2 separate regions of the Homo sapiens genome follow, and region 2 is linked to region 1. The links are contacts of gene promoters, found by promoter capture Hi-C in human tissues and cell types (Jung and others, 2019). All regions are on one chromosome and are shown on one strand. The core of a region is centred on a gene start or on the middle of the fragment in contact, and the rest is flanking DNA. Distances in the headings are between cores, read along the strand shown.

What was found. Contacts are between HindIII fragments. The study calls those that stand out against the background at their distance.
Region 2: a fragment that was not itself captured here is called in contact with the fragment with the promoter of COQ5 in region 1 in 1 of the 25 tissues and cell types used here (dorsolateral prefrontal cortex).

What each region holds. Positions count from the first base shown.
Region 1 is chr12:120,524,956-120,532,827 of GRCh38, forward strand. It overlaps COQ5 (coenzyme Q5, methyltransferase), which reads right to left and starts at 4,203. Exons shown (of 7, transcript NM_032314.4): 1 at 3,985-4,203. The coding sequence starts at 4,186. RefSeq lists enhancers at 3,193-3,963, 3,964-4,733, 4,080-4,539. The HindIII fragment of the contact is 25,598 bases long and covers 1-7,872 here.
Region 2 is chr12:120,999,436-121,005,723 of GRCh38, forward strand. HNF1A (HNF1 homeobox A) reads left to right here. Exons shown (of 10, transcript NM_000545.8): 9 at 48-192; 10 at 1,630-3,077. The coding sequence ends at 1,757. It overlaps C12orf43 (chromosome 12 open reading frame 43), which reads right to left. Exons shown (of 6, transcript NM_022895.3): 5 at 5,568-5,658; 6 at 1,051-5,054. The coding sequence ends at 4,718. Among named protein-coding and RNA genes, the nearest start is that of C12orf43, 14 kb to the right of the region's middle. The HindIII fragment of the contact is 9,568 bases long and covers 1-6,034 here.

The DNA.
Region 1 (7,872 bases), core at 2,953-5,452:
CACGTGCCACCATGCCCAGCTAATCTGTTGTATTTTTAGTAGAGATGGGGTTTCACTGCTAGCCAGGATAGTCTCGATCTCCTAACCTCAGATCTGCCCGCCTTGGCTTCCCAAAGTGTTAGGATCACAGGTGTGAGCCACCGTGCCCGGACTTTTGTTTTTGAGACGGCGTCTAGCTCTGTCGCCCAGGCTGGGGTACAGTGGCGCAATCTCGGCTCACTGCAACCTCCTCCTTCTAGGTTCAAGTGATTCTCCTGCCTCAGCCTCCCGAATAGCTACGATTACAGGCACTTGCCACCATGCCTGGCTAATTTTTGTATTTTTAGTAGAGATGGGGTTTCACCATGTTGGCCAGCTGGTCTCAAACTCCTGACCTCATGATCTGCCCACCTCAGCCTCCCAAAGTACTGGGATTACAGGCGTGAGCCACCACGCCCAGCCTGCTCTTTTGAGCATCTTTTGGGGTGTCTGGGGGACACTAAGGCTAACCCCACTCGGTATAAATAGTCCTCCTTGCTGGCATGGTGGCACACACCTGGAGTGCCAGCTACTCGGGGGGCTAATGGGAGAGGACTGCTTGAACCCAGGAGTTCAAGGCTGCAGTGTGCTATGATTGTGCCTGTGAATAGACATTGTACCCCAGCCTGGGCAGCATAGTGAGAACTTGTCTCAAAAATAAATAAACAAGGCTGGGCGCAGTGGCTCATGCCTATAATCCCAGAACTTTGGGAGGCTGAGGCGGGGGGATCACGAGGTCCAGAGATCGAGACCATCCTAGCTAACACAGTGAAACTCCATCTCTACTAAAAATACAAAAAAACTAGCTGGGCGTGGTGGTGGGCGCCTGTAGTCCCAGCTACTCGGGAGGCTGAGGCAGGAGAATGGCATGAACCTGGGAGGCGGAGCTTACAGTGAGCTGAGATCGTGCCACCGCACTCCAGCCTGGGCGACAGAGCGAGACTCCATCTCCAAAAAAATAAATATAAATAAATAAATAAATAAGCAAATAGTCCTGGCTTTGCATGTTCCAATATGCATGAATTTCAGTTACTGTGGTTTAGCTAAACAACACCAGTCACCCAATACCACAATTCAAGTACAATGGTATATTAAATATGAGTAATTACATAAAATACATTCTTTAGCCTACAAATCACTATGTAAATAACAGATACACAACATGTTCAGCAACCAATCACGCACTTCTTTCCCAGACTTTAGGTGACTGGTCACTGCATCAGTTACTCAGTTCACAGACAGTAAAGCATGTACTTGTATTGCCTCTTTATCTTTCAGTGATAAAGCACACGTGGCATAACTGGATAAATGAAAGAGGGAATTGAGCAACAAAAATGAAAATGCTGATAATGCTGGAAGTGAAATTCAAATTGAGTGTCAGTGGAGTTATAGGAGAAATAGATGACTGTGGGAATATTGACACTGCTGCCACTGGAGAGACTCTAGACATACAGCCAGAGGAACTGCAGGAAGATGAACTTACCAACATGAACAAGAAATGGAGCTGTGACAAAAAGGTTGAAGATGTCCCAGAAGAAGTGATGCCAGCAAAAACTTTCACATTAAAGGAGTTCTTGGAGGTATTTCATAACATTGAAAGCACAAAGGATAAAATATCAGAAGTAGATAAAAACTTAGAAAGAAATATGGCAATTTGCCAAGGCATAGAAAAGATATTTCATACGACAAGAAGGTGGCAAATAGTGCTCAAACTACTCTTGGCAATTTTTTTTTTTTTTTTTTTTTTTTTTTTTTTTTTGAGACAGAGTCTTGCTCTGTCGCCCAGGCTGGAGTGTAGTGGCAGGATCTCGGCTCACTGCAAGCTCCTCCTCCCGGGTTCATGCCATTCTCCTGCCTCAGCCTCCGGAGTAGCTGGGACTACAGGCGCCCGCCACCATGCCCGGCTAATTTTTTTGTATTTTTAGTAGAGACGGAGTTTCACCGTGTTAGCCAGGATGGTCTCAATCTCCTGACCTCATGATCCACCCGCCTCGGCCTCTCAAAGTGCTGGGATTACAGGCGTGAGCCACTGCGCCCAGCCTACTCTTGGCAATTTTTTTACAAGGAAATAAAAGAATTTAATTCTCAAGGTTTCTAATTTTTTATTAGAATTTTTTTTCTTTGTTTTTGAGACAGTCTCACTGTGTCGCCCAGGCTAGAGTGCAGTGGCACAATCTCAGATCACTGCAACGTCCACCTCCCAGGTTCAAGAAATTTGCCTGCCTCAGCCTCCTAATTAGCTGTGATTACAGGCGTGCGTCACCATGCTTGGCTAATTTTTTTTGTATTTTTAGTAGAGATGAGGTTTCACCACGTTGGCCAGGCTGGTCTCGAACTCCTGACTTCAAGTGCCTACCTCGGCCTCCCAAAGTGCTGGGATTACAGGTGTGAACCATCGCACCTGGCTGTAAATAAATATCAACTTCAGTATATATTTTTTCATTTCACTATACATTTATAACTGACAGGGTTTTTGATGGTTGATAATTTTTAAAGGTCATAAAACAATTCTAATTTTTCCCATTGATTAAGGTCATTGTGTATGACTTCAGCTTGCACATTTTCACAGTCTTGCATTACTGTGCACAGCGAGGACTGTCTGTACTGCAATCTCAGTCCCCAATCTGGAATTCATATTTAGTTCAGTAGTTAACTTCTTCCTTGCTTGCCACTGTGTGAAATGTTGATTATACATTGATTATACATTGTAAAATGTTGATTATACATTGGCCGGTGTGGTGGCTCATGCCTGTAATCCCAGCACTTTGGGAGGCCGAGGCAGGTGGATCACGAGGTCAGGAGATCCAGACCATCCTGGCTAACATGGTGAAACCCTGTCTGTACTAAAAAAAAAATACAAAAAATTAGCCGGGCATGGTGGCGGGCCCCTGTAGTCCCAGCTACTCGGGAGGCTGAGGCAGGAGAATGGCGTGAAGCCAGGAGGCGGAGCTTGCAGTGAGCCGAGATCGCGCCACTGCCTTCCAGCCTGGGGGTGACAGAGAGAGACTCAGTCTCAAAAAAAAAAAAAAAAAAAAAAAAAAAAAAAAAAGAAACCCCGTCTCTACTGAAAATACAAAAATTAGCAGGGCACAGTGGCAGATGCCTGTAATCCCAGCTACTCAGGAGGCTGAGGCAGGAGGATCGCTTGAACCTAGGAGGCTGAGGTTGCAGTGAGCCCATATTGCGCCATTGCACTCCAGCCTGGGCAACAAGAGCGAAACTCCGTCTCAAAATAAATAAATAAATAAATAAATAAATAAAAACAACCAAAAAAACCCCTATTTTTCTCTAGAGGTAAAGAACGGGGGCTTCAGACTCAGATTAAACTGGGTTTGAATACTGGTTCCGCCACTTACTGATATGTTCAACTGGGCAACTTCTTGCTTAACCTTTAAGTCTCAATTTCCTCACGTGTAATATGGTAATAACAATACCCACTACTGGAATGTTGAAAATGAGAATTGAAAATAATGTCTGTACGTTGCCTGGCACATCACAAACGCTCAGTTGATGGGATTTAGTCATCAGTATTCTGCTTTTAAAAAGGGGGCGTCTGGCTGGGCGCGGTGGCTCACGCCTGTAATCCCAGCACTTTGGGAGGCCGAGGCAGGCGAATCACCTGAGGTCAGGAGTTCGAGACCAGCCTGGTGAAACCCCATCTCTAGTAAGAATACAAAAAAGTTAGCCGGGCGTGCTGGCGGGCGCCTGTAATCCCAGCTACTCGGGAAGCTGAGGCAGGAGAATCGCTTGAACCCGGGAGGCGGAGGTTGCAGTGAGCCAAGATCGGACCATTGCACTCCAGTGTGGGCAACAAGAGCGAAATTCTGTCTCCAAAAAAAAAAAAAATCATAACTGCACAGACAACAACACTGGAACTAATTGGATGTTAAATCAACCCTAACTGGCCAGAAGAAACCAGACCATGGACGGTCAGATCCCTCCCATCCGCCCTCTCGCCCCTTTCACCTTTGCCCCCCTTCTCCTCTTCCGACACAGTCTCAAACCCAAAGTGCGTTTCCGCTGCCCGCTTCTCTTGGGACAAGAGCCGAGCACTTAGTAGGTCCCCGGGCCAAGAGCTACGAAGCCCGAGGAGCTGGCAGCCCCGCATCGCCCGCGACCACCCACGGCCGCAATAGCTCCATAGAGCACAGCTCCCGGGGGCCGCCATCTTGGTAGTCGAGTGACAACGGCCAGAGAGTACGCCTTGTTGCGTCACTCCACGAACGACGGCGGCTGGCCGGCAACATTATTAGCCGAACGCGCCCTGAAATCTGATACACAGTTGTGCCGGCATTATCTCTAGGATCCAAAGGGTGGTCTCTAAGTATCGGAAATCCCTTCCTCTCTCTCTTCTCAAATTGAATTTACAATTCACCAGGAATCAGGGGATCTCAGGGGAGCCCCGGGTCACCTCTTAGCGGCCATGTCTCTGAATCCGGCTAGGCAGAAAAGTACTAACTCGCAAGATATCCAGGAACTCTTGTTGTCTTGTGCAGAAGGGGGAAATTGAGGCATGGTGTGGTTAAAAAGCCAAGATCACGGGCCAATTCCTGCACACTTTGTTGAGCGTAAGAATCACTTGGTTTACGTTTTAAAATGAAGATTCCTGGGTCCCCAACTACCAGAGATTTTGATCTGACCTATATCCCTTTAATCTCTATTTAAACAAATTTCTCTGGCGATTCTGATGCTAAAGATGCAGACCATTCTTGAGAAACATATGTTACACTACTCTGAAAAATAAACATAGGACAGACTTCTTTGTTCTGTCCGTTTTATGAACCTAGGAAGCTCATAAATGGGAACGAAAGCTCTGGTATCCACTTAGCAAGCCAGAACCACCACTCACACTTGGTCTCCTGCTGACACAAAGCTACATTCCTAGCTCCAGGTGGCATGTCATGGGTGTTTTACTTCAGCCCCAGATTTTCAGTCTTTTTTTAATGGCAAGGGTAATGCAGACCGTCTTGTGCAAAATAAAGAACGGACGTTGTTGAGTTTTGCTTGGATTACTGTATGTTTCTGCTTTCATTCCATTTTAAATGTATGTTTCCTGTAAATATTTCACGAGGAGAAAGCGCCAATAGAAGAAACTGTTTTGAAATGAAAATTCTCTTCCTGGTTTAATATAGCCTGACAGATGGACACCTAACCGCTTTCGTTTGGGAAGTACTGCGCTGGGATTTCTGTTTCTTTCTCTTTTATTTTAAGAATGATAGAAGGTCCTCGTTGGTATAGTGATGAGAAAAAAAAAAGGAAGGATACAAGGGCGAAATGATTCATCCATGTATTCATAATTCTCATGTCTTTGTTAAAAGAAATTAAGTGGCTGGGTGCGGTGGCTCACGCCTGTAATCCCAACACTTTGGGAGCCCGAGGTGGGCGGATTGCATGAGGTCAGGAGTTCGAGACCAGCATGGCTAACATGGTGAAACCCCGTCTCTACTAAAATACAAAAATCAGCCAGGCATGGTGGTGCACACCTGTAGTCCCAGCTATTCAGGAGGTTGAAGCAGGAGAATCCCTTCAACCCAGGAGTCACTGGTTGCAGTGAGCTGAGATTGCACCACTGCACTCAAGCCTGGGTGACAGAGCCAGACTCCATCTCAAAAATAAATAAATAAATAAATAAATAAATAAATAAAGTCTCATCAAAGAATCTTATATCTTCCATATCTAGTTATATAAAAGAATGGATCTCAGGATTTAGGGCTGTTCCTTCTGCACATCAGATTAAGTATCCAGACCAACAGTATTTCACTGTTCTCTTATTTCATATGATATGTGGAGGAAAACCTGTAAAAAGTGAAGTAGGACAAGGACTGTTGGAAGGTATTTTTTTTTTGAGGTAGCGTCTTGCTCTGTTGCCCAGACTGGAGTGCAGTGGCATGACTTCGGCTCACTGCAACCTCTGTCTTCTGGGTTCAAGTGATCCTCCTGCCTCAGCTTCCCTAGTAGCTGGGATTACAGGCATGCGCCACCATGCCAGGCTAATTTTTGTATTTTTAGTAGAGATGGGGTTTCGCTATATTGGCCAGGCTGGTCTTGAACTCCTGACTTCAGGTAATCCACCTGCCTCAGCCTCCCAAAGTGCTGAGCCACCACTCCCGGCGCTAATTTTTGTATTTTTAGTAGAGATGGGGTTTCACCATTTTGGCTAGGCTGGTCTTATTTACTTATTTATTGATTCATTCTTTATTTTGAAATAGGATCTCACTTTGTCACCCAGGGTGGAGTGCAGTGGCACAATCATAGCTCACTTCTCACCCTCCCAGGCTCAAGCCATCCTCCCACCTCAACCTCCTGAGTAGCTGGGACTACAGGTGTGCACCACCACACTGGGCTGATTTTTGCATTTTTTGTTGAGACAGGGTTTTGCCATGTTGCCCTGAATGGTCTTGAACTCCTGGGCTTGGGCAATCTGCCTACCTCAATCTCCCAAAGTGCTGGGATTATAGGCGTGAGCAACCGCACCTGGCCCTGGTCATTTCCTTAATAGCATGTCTATGTGATCTTTTGAATCTCAAACTACTATGGTTGGAAGGGAATCATTTGTAATTTTCCAAAGTACAAATAGGTGTGGTATGATTCCCAAAGTCTTAGCGTCTATATCTGTAAACCATATGTTTTTGTTTTTTGTTTTTTAATTTTTAGTAGAGAATTGGTTTCACTATGTTCAGGCTGGTCTCAAACTCCTAACATCAAGTGATCTTCCTGCCTCAGCCTCCCAGAATGTTGGGATTGAGCTACCTTGCCTGGCCACATACATGATTTTCCTTTTTTTTTCTTTTTTTTTTTTTTTGAGACAGAGTCTCGCTCTGTCACCCAGGCTGGAGTGCAGTGGCCCAATCTCAGCTCACTGCAACCTCCGCCTCCCAGGTTCAAGCGATTGTCCTCCCTCAACCTCCCAAGTAGCTGGGACTACAGGTGTGCGCCACCACGCCCGGCTAATTGTTGTATTTTTAGGAGAGACGGGGTTTCACTGTATTGGTCAGGCTGGTCTCGAAATCCTGACCTCGTGATCTGCCCGCCTCGAACTCCCAAAAAGTGCTGGGATTACAGGCCTCCCAAAAAGTGCTGGGATTACAGGCCTCCCAAAAAGTGCTGGGATTACATTGCACCTGACCCACATACATTATTTTCTTTCTTCTTTTTTTTTTTGAGATGGAGTCTCGCTCTGTTGCCCAGGCTGGAATACAGTGGTGCAGTCTTGGCTCACTGCAACCTGTGCCTTCTGGGTTCAAGTGATTCTCCTGCCTCAGCCTCCTCAGTAGCTGAGATTACAGGTGCGCACCACCACGCCTGGCTAATTTTTTTGTATTTTTAGTAGAGACGGGGTTTCACTATGTTGGTCAGGCTGGTCTCGATCTCCTGACCTGTTGATCCACCCGGCTTGGCCTCCCAAAGTGCTGGGGTTACAGGTGTGAGCCACCGTGCCCGGCCCCATATGCATGATTTTCTAAATCTCAGTCTGTATCTGTAAAATGAGGAACTGCTTGTCTCATAGGTAAGAACATCACTTGTTAGCTATGTGATAATAGGCAAATTATCTGGACTTTTGGAGTCCATTTACTCATCTTTAAATTTTATTTATTTAGGGACAGAGTCTTGTTGTGTTACCCAGGCTGGATTCATACTCTTGGGCTCAAGTGATCATCCCTCCTCAGCCTCCTGAGTAGCTGGGACTACAGGCACACTTAGTCTAAAATTTAGTTATTGAGAAGATTAAATGTGATAATGTTAACAGCTGTTAAATACAATTTATAGGAGCCCATTGTTTTGCACTGAGCTTCAGCACAGTAGACCAAACCAAAACAGAGTTACTCAAGGTGAATTTCTACCCAACCACGCCTA
Region 2 (6,288 bases), core at 1-2,500, 470 kb after region 1:
CTCACCCCCACATCCCCCGGGCTCAGGAGGCTGCTCTGCTCCCCCAGGTCTTCACCTCAGACACTGAGGCCTCCAGTGAGTCCGGGCTTCACACGCCGGCATCTCAGGCCACCACCCTCCACGTCCCCAGCCAGGACCCTGCCAGCATCCAGCACCTGCAGCCGGCCCACCGGCTCAGCGCCAGCCCCACAGGTGAGAGGCCCTGGCTCCACCCCCTCCCTTACTGTCCCTGCCCCCTTCCATGTTGGTCCCACCCCTTCTGTTGCTGTCCGTCACTGTGGGGCTGTGCATGCAGCAGGCCTAGGGCTGCTGTGAGGAAGCACTGGCAGGCGTGGAGGGGTGGGGTGGGCTTCCATGAAGCCCAAGAGGCACAGGCGACCCCAGGAAGATGGGGCCCACCTTACAAGAACATCTCAGGGACTGGACTGAGGAAAATGATGAAGTAATTGTTAGAGGCAGTGGAGAGTAACGATAAGGACCAGGTCTGTGAGCCAGAAGCGACTCTTGCATGTGTTTGGTTTGGCTTGGCTCAGGGTTGAACATTCTTTGAATTTGTTGCCAACATTTCAAAATCAGGAATTTTCACATAGAAATCCAGATTTCTGGCATCTTTTGGAAAATTGGAAAAATTCATATTCCCATATAACAGTGCACCAGGCCTCACTGCATCCACTCACATCGGCTCCAATGACCCCTGGCGGTGGGGCGGTCACCTGAGTTTGTAATCTATGATGCCATTGTCAGGAGTGGGCACTTTGGAGTCAGGTGGGTGGGCTTTGCAGCCTGCCTTTTTGCAAGCTGCCCCCTTTCTATAAGGTTCCTGGACCCGGCCCTGGCAGCTGTCATGACAGCCACTGAGGCCATTCTGTGTCCTGGCATTCACCCCATGAGGCGTGTCCATGACCACCCCCATTTTACAGATGAGAAAGTGGACACTCAAGGAGGGGAGGGACTTGCCTCATCTCCCACAGCTACCAGATGGCAGGGCCAGGACTCGAACCCAGGTCCCACCTCAAAGCCCATTCTCTTAACCATTGCCATCAGTCAGGGTTCTCCAGGAACACAGAACCAACAGATTTATTTGAAGGACTTGGCCCGTGTCTGCGGGGGGCTGGCAGGCCTGAAATCTGTTGCTGGCAGCTCTGGGGAGTGAATTCTGCAGCCTTGAGGCAGAATTCCTTCTCTGGGAAACCGGTTTTTGCTCTTACGGCCTTCCACTGATGTAGGAGGCCCACCCATATTTTCAGGGTAATCTCCTTCACTCAAAGCCAACTGATTGTGGCATTAACCACATCTACAAAGCACCTGCATTCACAGCAGCGCCTAGATTAGTGTTTGACTCAGCCTAGCCAAGCCAACACGTACAACTACCTACCTCGGCATCTCACCGGGGCTTCTCCAGTGTTCACACTAAGATGTACTCAGGCCACTCCATGGGCGGCCGTGGACCCTGGCTGGGAGGCTCCCTTTGAAGAACCGAGGGTAGAGGTGTGACTTTGGGGTTCCTGTTATCTGCTGTGATCCAGGAGGTGTGGCCCTGCCTCCCCATCCTGAGTACCCCTAGGGACAGGCAGGTGGGGTGGGTGTGGGTGCCTGGTGGGTGGCTAGCAGCCTTGTTTGCCTCTGCAGTGTCCTCCAGCAGCCTGGTGCTGTACCAGAGCTCAGACTCCAGCAATGGCCAGAGCCACCTGCTGCCATCCAACCACAGCGTCATCGAGACCTTCATCTCCACCCAGATGGCCTCTTCCTCCCAGTAACCACGGCACCTGGGCCCTGGGGCCTGTACTGCCTGCTTGGGGGGTGATGAGGGCAGCAGCCAGCCCTGCCTGGAGGACCTGAGCCTGCCGAGCAACCGTGGCCCTTCCTGGACAGCTGTGCCTCGCTCCCCACTCTGCTCTGATGCATCAGAAAGGGAGGGCTCTGAGGCGCCCCAACCCGTGGAGGCTGCTCGGGGTGCACAGGAGGGGGTCGTGGAGAGCTAGGAGCAAAGCCTGTTCATGGCAGATGTAGGAGGGACTGTCGCTGCTTCGTGGGATACAGTCTTCTTACTTGGAACTGAAGGGGGCGGCCTATGACTTGGGCACCCCCAGCCTGGGCCTATGGAGAGCCCTGGGACCGCTACACCACTCTGGCAGCCACACTTCTCAGGACACAGGCCTGTGTAGCTGTGACCTGCTGAGCTCTGAGAGGCCCTGGATCAGCGTGGCCTTGTTCTGTCACCAATGTACCCACCGGGCCACTCCTTCCTGCCCCAACTCCTTCCAGCTAGTGACCCACATGCCATTTGTACTGACCCCATCACCTACTCACACAGGCATTTCCTGGGTGGCTACTCTGTGCCAGAGCCTGGGGCTCTAACGCCTGAGCCCAGGGAGGCCGAAGCTAACAGGGAAGGCAGGCAGGGCTCTCCTGGCTTCCCATCCCCAGCGATTCCCTCTCCCAGGCCCCATGACCTCCAGCTTTCCTGTATTTGTTCCCAAGAGCATCATGCCTCTGAGGCCAGCCTGGCCTCCTGCCTCTACTGGGAAGGCTACTTCGGGGCTGGGAAGTCGTCCTTACTCCTGTGGGAGCCTCGCAACCCGTGCCAAGTCCAGGTCCTGGTGGGGCAGCTCCTCTGTCTCGAGCGCCCTGCAGACCCTGCCCTTGTTTGGGGCAGGAGTAGCTGAGCTCACAAGGCAGCAAGGCCCGAGCAGCTGAGCAGGGCCGGGGAACTGGCCAAGCTGAGGTGCCCAGGAGAAGAAAGAGGTGACCCCAGGGCACAGGAGCTACCTGTGTGGACAGGACTAACACTCAGAAGCCTGGGGGCCTGGCTGGCTGAGGGCAGTTCGCAGCCACCCTGAGGAGTCTGAGGTCCTGAGCACTGCCAGGAGGGACAAAGGAGCCTGTGAACCCAGGACAAGCATGGTCCCACATCCCTGGGCCTGCTGCTGAGAACCTGGCCTTCAGTGTACCGCGTCTACCCTGGGATTCAGGAAAAGGCCTGGGGTGACCCGGCACCCCCTGCAGCTTGTAGCCAGCCGGGGCGAGTGGCACGTTTATTTAACTTTTAGTAAAGTCAAGGAGAAATGCGGTGGAAACTTCTTGCTTGTCCACAAATCATTCAGATGGGGTTTGGGCAGGTAGCGGGAGGCTGGGGCAGGCCAGAGGCCTGCGAAGAGGAGACAGGCTCCAGCACCCACGCTCTCACACCCCACATCTCTGCTTTTCTTGCTCTGCTGAGACTCTAATGACAAAGCCAGATTTCATCTTAACCTCAAGCTTCTACTTTTTAAAAAAATTTTGTTTTGGAGACAGGGTCTCACTGTCACCCAGGCTGGACTGCAGTGGCATTATACAGCTCACTGCAGCCTTGAACTCCTGGACTAAAGGGATCCTCCCACCTCAGCCTCACAAGCAGCCTCACAGGCGCTCACTACCATGCCCAACTAATTTTTGTATTCTTTTTTTTATAGAGACGAGGTTTCACCATGTTGCCTAGGCTGGTCTGGAACTCGGCTCAAGTGATCCACCTGCCTCGGCCTCCCAAAGTGCTGGGATTACAGGTGTGAGCCACCATCCCTGGCCATGAGCTTCTACTTCTTTTCTTTTTCTTTTTCTTTTTTTTTTTTTGAGATAGGGTCTTGCTCCATTGCTTAGGCTAGAGTGCAGTGGCGCAATCTCGGCTCACTGCAACCTGCACCTCCTGGGTTCAAGCGATTCTCCCACCTCAGCCTCCTGAGTAGCTGGGATTACGGGCGTGTGTCAACATGCTCAGCTAATTTTTGTATTTTTAGTAGAGATGGGGTCTCGCCATGTTGGCCAGGCTGGTCTCAAACTCCTGGCCTCAATTGATCCACCTCCTTGGCCTCTCAAAATGCTTGGATTACAGGCATGAGCCACTGCACCCGGCCACAAGCTTCTACTTCTTGCAGAATGCCTTTGTCCCATGAAACCTAGTCCACGAGTGCTATGACACTTCCTGAAGTCTTGGGTGGGGTGAACGCACAAATCCTGGGGGTGTAGAGAGGAGGAGGATGTTTACTTAAAATGTCTTAAGGTTCAGCATTGACAGAGAGGCAATATCCAAATCACTCTAAGTTTTGTTTTGGGTCCTCTGACAATTGAGTTTCCATAATCTGGTCGGCTCAGAGACACCATCATGTGTGGTATATTCACAAATGCAGACAAAGAAAATTCTAGAAAGCCAGGGGTGAAAAAGCTCTCCTTTCTCAGACGATTCTGTGAAGTCTATGTGGGCTAAGGAGAGAAGAACAAAAGTTTCTCTGGGCCTTGGCCTCTTGGGGATCCCTTCTCTCATTTTCTAAAAACTGTTTCTCACACCAGGCTAAGGAGGTGGTGGGGAAGGTCTCCCTTCCCCTGCCCACCTCAGACAGTTCTAGGGAGATGGAGGTTTCACCACTTGGCCACTAGTCTCAAATAACTGGAAGGTTCCTTTTTTCCTGAGGTCATGAAATGTTCTGGAACCACAGCGCCCCCGCCAGCCCTCCGTGGGAGCACAGAGGGGCAGGCCTTGATTGGTCTTCTCACCCTACAGCCACTTTTTTGGCCCAACTCTCGAGCAAGCCTTCATCACCATCAGGGTCTCATGGGCAGTCTGGGTTTGCCAGCCCAGTCCTTGAACTTGGAGAGGGAGGTGGGGCTTGGAAATGCCTTGTCCCCAGGGTGGGGGGGACACCTTGTCCTTGGAGCTGGCTGAGCCCTGTGCCCATGGCTGGGTTCAGTTTGCAGGTATAGCTGTAGCACTCTTTGCTGGTGGGAATGGAGAGGTCTCGCTGGCCTTCTTTGCCTTTTTCTTCTTTTTGGTCCCAAGCGACACCTGGTCCCCGTTGAGCTCACCTGACTTCTGCTTCTGGACTGTGGCCATGCTGGTGGGGGTGGTGGCAGCGACAGCCGAGTCGACACTGGCCACCTTCTTGGCTTTCTTTTTCAACTTCCTTTTCTTCTTTGCCTCCTTCTCCACTGTTCCAGGGCTGTGGATGGCTGACTCCTGTAGGATGTCGGACGCCGACACAGCTGCCTCCCGGCACCGCCGCCACTCCTCGTCACTGTCCTCACTGCTGCAACGAGAGGGTACCCTGGGTTAGCTGGAGTCAGGACACAGCCCCAGAGCTGCCTCTCGCTGTCCTCCCTTGGTCCAGGTCACCAGAAGGTGGCCGCAGAGAGAGGCAGGTAGTGAGTTCAGGCTTGGGAGTGAGGCCAACCTGGCTTCCAATACTGGCTTCTGGGCGTAGCAGCCTTGTGACCTCCTTAAGTGACTTAACCTCTCTGACTGTATCATCTCTAAAACGGGGATCTTAACAGAGTCCAGGCCTCCCAGGGATGTCCCAGGAGGCAACTATGATCAAGTGAGGTGTCTGGCCCAAGACAGGTGCTCAAAAGCAGTAAACATCCAAAGCTGCCGCCAAGAGGGCTTTCCCTCCCGCTGAGCTCATGATTTCTCCAGCTGCCTGACAGGGCCACTGCCTTGGCCTGGTCCTGACTGGAGTCTGCTTGGCTATTCCAGGGAACCCACCAAGACAGAAGAGGAGAAAAAAGGAGGGGACGTGAGGAGAGGTGTGAGTTCTCACCTGGAGCTGGAGGGCTGTCGCTTTCGGCGGGGTTGGGGAGACTCTTCCTTCTCACGGCCTCCAGGGACAGATGTGAAGAAAAGGCGGAAACCTAAGATTCAATGGGGCAGAGTCAAACAAAAACAAAACAAAACAAAAAGAAACATAAAAAAATAAAAAATAAAGAAACAAAAAAGAAAAAAATTTTAAAAAGGAAAACGAAAGAAAGAAAAGATAAAGAGAAACAAAAAAAAAATTTTAAGAAGACACAAAATAAAAAAATTTAAAAAAGAAACAATAACAAAAAAACCCAACCAAGCAAACAAACAAAAAAAACAAAGGAGCAGAGTCAGCACCCCCAGATGCCAGCCCCTCCTCCCAGGTGCCAGGTGCTGAAGCTGCCCCGCCTCTGCCCTCAGGAGCTCCTGGTCCAGAGGCAAAGACCCAGGAATCAGTCGTCTAACTACAAAGTGATTCTGCATCTGCCAAGGGTCATGCTGATGCCTGATGGAGCCAGTGGAGGGCGCGCTGGAGCAGGAGCCAGCAGCCACATCAGCTCAGCAAGCCCTCAGAGGCTTCTGGAAGTCAGCACTTGAGCTCCTGACCTAAGGCAGCCTTCAAAGTGGCAAATGTGTTGGTACAGGACAGACGCAGATGGGCGAGGCTGTGGAGGGCAGCAGTAAAGTGCTCCTGCTCAGGGTGACACAGACGAGGCCGCCTCAGGCAAATGACTTCGTTTCTC